Linked DNA regions of Homo sapiens: region 1 is linked to region 2. The links are contacts of gene promoters, found by promoter capture Hi-C in human tissues and cell types (Jung and others, 2019). All regions are on one chromosome and are shown on one strand. Each heading gives the region's core, a stretch centred on a gene start or on the middle of the fragment in contact. The rest is flanking DNA. Distances are from core to core; before and after follow the strand shown. Region 1 overlaps RABEP1 (rabaptin, RAB GTPase binding effector protein 1). Region 2 holds the start of SLC16A11 (solute carrier family 16 member 11).

What was found. The method cuts DNA at HindIII sites, captures the fragments that hold promoters and counts their contacts. A contact is called where the count stands out against the background at its distance.
Region 1: a fragment that was not itself captured here is called in contact with the fragment with the promoter of SLC16A11 in region 2 in 1 of the 25 tissues and cell types used here (dorsolateral prefrontal cortex).

What each region holds. Positions count from the first base shown.
Region 1 is chr17:5,362,827-5,365,526 of GRCh38, forward strand. It overlaps RABEP1 (rabaptin, RAB GTPase binding effector protein 1), which reads left to right. Exons shown (of 18, transcript NM_004703.6): 10 at 86-190; 11 at 2,296-2,412. LOC105371505 (a long non-coding RNA gene) reads right to left here and starts at 86. Exons shown (of 2, transcript XR_934178.3): 1 at 1-86. The HindIII fragment of the contact is 7,517 bases long and covers 1-2,700 here.
Region 2 is chr17:7,042,842-7,045,541 of GRCh38, forward strand. SLC16A11 (solute carrier family 16 member 11) reads right to left here and starts at 1,251. Exons shown (of 5, transcript NM_001370549.1): 1 at 934-1,251; 2 at 471-678; 3 at 89-232. The coding sequence starts at 672. LOC124903909 (a long non-coding RNA gene) reads left to right here and starts at 226. Exons shown (of 2, transcript XR_007065598.1): 1 at 226-399. RefSeq lists silencers at 598-657, 728-857. The HindIII fragment of the contact is 14,065 bases long and covers 1-2,700 here.

The DNA.
Region 1 (2,700 bases), core at 146-2,645, 1.7 Mb before region 2:
CCATTGGTAAGACTATGCACGTGTACCTCAAGTGTGTGATGTAGAATTGTTTTGCCTGATAAGAGGTAATTTTGGTGCCCTTCAGGTACATAATGCTGGAAATAAACTTGGTAGACGTTGTGATATGTGTTCCAATTACGAAAAACAGTTACAAGGAATTCAGATTCAGGAGGCTGAAACGAGAGACCAGGTGAGTTTCTTCTGGATGCGCCAAATTGGATATTGTCGTTTTCATTGGAGGTGCAGAATTAATTGCCCCCCTCTCCGGCCCCAGCCCCATTTACATTATGAAGCATATCCATCTTGTTAAGTTATGAAATAACCTGGTACATGCAATGGCAGTTACATTTCCAGTGGGAGCTCACTAGGACTCTGCTTTTTTTTTTTTTGTTTTTGTTTTTGTTTGTTTTTTTTGAGAGGGGGTCTCGCTCTATTGCCAGGCTGGAGTGCAGGGGGGATCTCAGCTCACTGCAACTTCCGACCCCCTGGTTCAAGTGATTCTTCTCCCTCAGCCTGCCGAGTAGCTGGGATTACAGGGACACGCCACCACCCCCAGCTATTTTTTGTATTTTTAGTAGAGATGGGGTTTCACCATGTTGCCTAGGATGGTCTCAAACTCCTGACTTCATGATCCACCTGCCTCAGCCTCCCAAAGTGTTGGGATTACAGGTGTGAGCCACCGCGCTCGGCCAGGACTCTGTTTTTGTATATCTGCACAGGTCTGCCCAACTCTTAAAGGGACACTACCTAATCTCTTCCACCCTGCCCCTTCCGCCTAAGGCCTAAAAGTGATTTTAAGTACATGGCAAGTACTTTATGATATGGAGATCTCAGGGAGATAAAAGGTTGATTGTTGCCTCCAGTAGAATAAAGGCTTAATGGAATGTTATATTAATCAGAATTTGTGTCCTTCAGTGCATATTACTCATTTCTTGTCATAAATTTGTTGAATTAAGGTTAATAAGTTCCCAGAAATTAAGCTTTGGTAGATTTGGTATGCTGAGATTGATAAATCTTCAGTACTTTTTCAAGTGCAGTGTTTAATAATGGGCACCTTGATAGCAGTTAGGAAATAATGTAGAAATTCATGAGAGTGGGCTTGTCAAAGTCTACGTAAGAAAGATACTTTTCCCTCATATTTCCAAATTGTTCTTTGGTTGTTATGAAGATTGTTCCCTTAGCCTTCAAAATAACTTCAAGCCAATTAGAATGATGGTTTAATATTTTCAAATGTCATTGCTATTGAGTTCCTTCATACACTGTGTGCTTTACGCATAGATGTTTCAAAGGTAAATTTCTAAATGTATTTGCAAAACTAATGTAGTTGGCCCCTGATAGTGTGGTGTAGGAATGGTTTTCATAAACATTTCAGTAGACTGTTTTAAAGCCTGGCTAAAAATTAGTCAGAAAAAGAAGTGGGAAAAGGGTGTTCATGGAGAGAAAAAATATACAAAGAACAGAGTTAGGAAAGAAAATGATGTATTGTAGGAAGTATGAGTAGTTATGTGGCTGGGCACAGGGGGTGACTGTTACGAAATAATGGGAATGTAAGCTACAAGGGAAAGCCATGAAGACATCACTTAGGGAGGGGTGATGATTGAAGAGATTTAAATTTTACCCTGAAGCCGGGCATGGTGGCTCACGCCTATAATCCCAGCACTTTGGGAGGCCGAGGCGGGCCGATCACCTGAGGTTAGGAGTTCATAGACCAGCCTGACTAACATGGAGAAACCCCACCTCTACTAAAAATGCAAAATTAGCCAGGTGTGGTGGTGCATGCCTGTAATCCCAGCTACTCGGGAGGCTGAGGCAGGAGAATCCCTTGAACCCCAGGAGGTGGAGGTTGCAGTGAGCCGAGATTGCAGAGCGAGAGACTCTTGTCTCAAAAAAAAAAAAAAAAAAATTTACCCTGAAGACTTTGAGAGGCATTTAGAGTTTTAAGTAGGGAAATTATATTATTTCACTTTTATAAAATTTCTGGTGTTAGTGTGGATTGTAGACTGGAGACAGAGGATACACTCTAGTTAGGGAGAACAGTGTCATGGTCTAGAGGATCTGAGGGAGAAGCAGATGTTTTCAGATGAGATGTGTGTGAAAAATGATTTGTTAACTGTAAACCACAGTACAGTTGTCTCTTGAGGTCATTTATCTAATTTCTGTCTGAATTAGAAAATCTGTGGTGTTTCCCAGAAAAAGACATAAGAGATTTTTTTTTAAAATTCTGGAGTTAGATTTAAAAAAAAAAAAATTATAAAAGGATTCTGGTTTTTCTAATTGACTTTTAAAATGATACAGGTGAAAAAACTACAGCTGATGCTAAGGCAAGCTAATGACCAGTTAGAGAAGACAATGAAAGATAAGCAGGAGCTGGAAGACTTCATAAAGCAAAGCAGCGAAGATTCGAGTCACCAGGTAAGGGAGGGTTTATAGACTGTGGCCCATGAGGGATGACTGGGTTATTTAAATGAAAGATTCAAAAAATATAGTCATGTTTTTTTTTGCCTTGAAGATTTGGCAGTTTTATTTTCCCTCAGGTAAAAAGATTTCTTACTGATCATTCTGTGATCTCTGTTTTACAGATTTTTAAAGAATAACTTTCAAAATAATTGGTCAGTAAATGCCAGGAGGTTCTGATTCTCCTTTCCTTTATTTGTATTAGTTAGGTTTTCCTGCTGCACTGGAAACTTGCTGACAAAGATA
Region 2 (2,700 bases), core at 1-2,500:
GGCCCCCGCCTCGTTCGCTACCCCAGATCCCAACAAGCTCCTGTCACCTCCTTCACCCTGAATGACCCGGGCATCCCACTTCCCTCACCAGCGAGGAGGCCCAGGCCGAGGTAGAGATGCAGCAGATCGCTGGCGAAAGCCGAGAAGACGAAGCCCAGCGAGGCGAGGACGCCCCCAACCATCACCACGGGGCGGGCCCCCCAGCGCGTGCTCAGGGCGCTGCCCACGGGGCCTGAAAGGGGGCGGAGTCAACGGAAGACACGCCCCCGGGCCCCCAAACTCTCTCCAACACTTCTCATTGGCTGTTTGCCTCCCTCGAACTAATGGTTCTTCTCCTTGACCTCAAGATGCACTCTTTTCTAGAGCCGGTTGCCCTTTCTCAGGTTGTCGGGTAATCAGGTGGGTCTCCCATCCCTCCACTCACGGCTCCTCCTCCCCGTTCCTGTCTCCCGCCTCAGGGCCCCCCTCACTGGCTGCCTGCTGCACGGCCAGGGCCAGGGCGCTGATCCACGCAGTGTCCTGGGCGCTTCGGTCAAAGTGCTCGGCAAGGTCAGGGAAGGCAAGGCCCAGCGAGCGCAGCAGCCCGTAGGACAGCCCGTTTATCGCGAAGGCTGCGGCCGCCACCACCCAGCCCCAGCCCCCATCCGGGGGTCCGGCGGGCTGGGGGGTCATCGCCGTCTGCGGGGTGGGGAAACATCTGTGAGAGAAGCCTCCACGCCTGTGCTTCCGCTGGGGAGCTGGCATCCCTGAGATCCAGCCTCTGGCTGCTCGCCCGGGGTGGGCCCGTCACTCCGAGCGCGATGGCGCGGGGCGGAGGGAGCCGGAGCCTGGCCTAGGGCTGGAACTCCCGGGTCCGCGCGAGGTACGGGGACGGGGACAGCCAGATCCCCAGGCCCGAGGTTCCCCGTCCCACGCACACTCCTTCCCCCTTACCCGACCTCTCCGGGCGGTGCGGGGAGGGGAAGGGTGAGGAAGGGCTGGGCCCGGCTTTCTCTCTGCTTCCCAGGCGGGCGGGGGCCCCGAAGGGGAGCGAGGGCAGCGATGGAGCCCAACTTGGACGGGCTCTCTCGGTAAACAGAGATCACCACAGGGGCCTGAGCCACCTGGGACGCGGGGTGTACGGAGGGCGGGGGCGAGCTGAAACAGCCAATCCGGCAAGCCGCGCGTGAGGCCAGACGCCAGTCCCACGGGGATTGAATTATGTACACACACAACCCCCAGGCCCGGGGGAGGGGGGAGCGGCGAGAAATGAATGCAGAGGGGCCCTGCCCTACTCACACGCATGCACCTGCCGCCTGCTGCGCGCAGGGGAGACACGTGGATTGCAAACCCCAGCGAGCCCAGGGTCCACCGCCAACGCGTGGAAATAGGGATGGTCCCCAAAACCTGAGGGGATGAGTAGTTTTGTTCTCAGGAACGTTGCCGAGGACCAGGTAAATCTCGGATATCAATCAGATCACAGACCTCCACCAAGTGCCAGCTCTGTGCTTAGAATAACAGACCCCCAGGCCGGGCGCGGTGCAAGCCTGTAATCCCAGCACTTTGGGAGGCCGATGTGGGTGAATCACCTGACGTCAGGAGTTCGAGGCCAGCCTGACCAACATGGCGAAACACCATATCTACTAAAAATACAAAAAAAATTAGCCGGGTGTGGTGGCGGGCGCCTGTAGTCCCAGCTACTTGGGAGGCTGAGGCGGGGAATCGCTTGAACCCGGGAGGCAGAAGTTGCAGTGAGCCAAGATCATGCCACTGCACTCCAGCCTGGGTGACAGAGAAAGACTCTGTCTCAAAAATAAATAAATAAACAAAAATAAAATAAATAAAATAAAATAACAGGTCCTCAAGGACAGAGGGATGAAACACGACTCCCTCAATGTGAAGACCTGCAGTGTACCAGGCACCGTTTACACATGCTATCACTTCATCTTATGATAACCCTATGAAGAAGGTGTCGCTTTTCTTTTTTTTTTTTTTTAGATGGAGTTTCACTCTGTAGCCCAGGCTGGAGTACAGTGGCGAGATCTCGGCTCATTGCAACCTCTGCCTCCTAAGTTCAAGCCATTCTCCTGCCTCAGCCTCCTGAGTAGCTGGGATTACGGGCGCCTGCCACCACTCCCAGCTAATTTTTGTATTTTTTAGTAGAGATGGGGTTTCGCCATGTTGGCCAGGCTGGTCTGGAACTCCTGACCTCAGATGATCCGCCCACCTCGGCCTCCCAAAGTGCTGGGATTACAGGAGTGAGCCAACGCGCCTGGCCGATGTCGTGCCTCTTTTATAGATGCAGTAACTGAAGCTCTCAGGGAAAAAATGGTATGGATATTTGAATTTAGGTCTGTCCAACTGTGGACCTACAAGGAGAACAATCCCAGGACTGAAACAAAATCTGGCACAGTTAAGGGAAAGATCCTGGATACAGCTTGAAGCAAACTGCCCTGGAAAGGGTGGAACCATTGCAGGGACAGAAAACTTATGAGTCTAAAATAAGGGGTCACTGGGAATAGAAAGGATTCTTGAGATCAGAATCTCTAAACACTTAGGTTAGAATTTTATTTTTTATTATGTATGTATGTATGTATGTATGTATGTATGTATGTATGTATGTGTGTGTGTATTTATTTATAGAGACAGGGTCTTGTCCAGGCTGAAGTGTAGTACTGCCATTATGGCTCACTGCAGCCTCCACCTCCCAGGCTCAAGCAA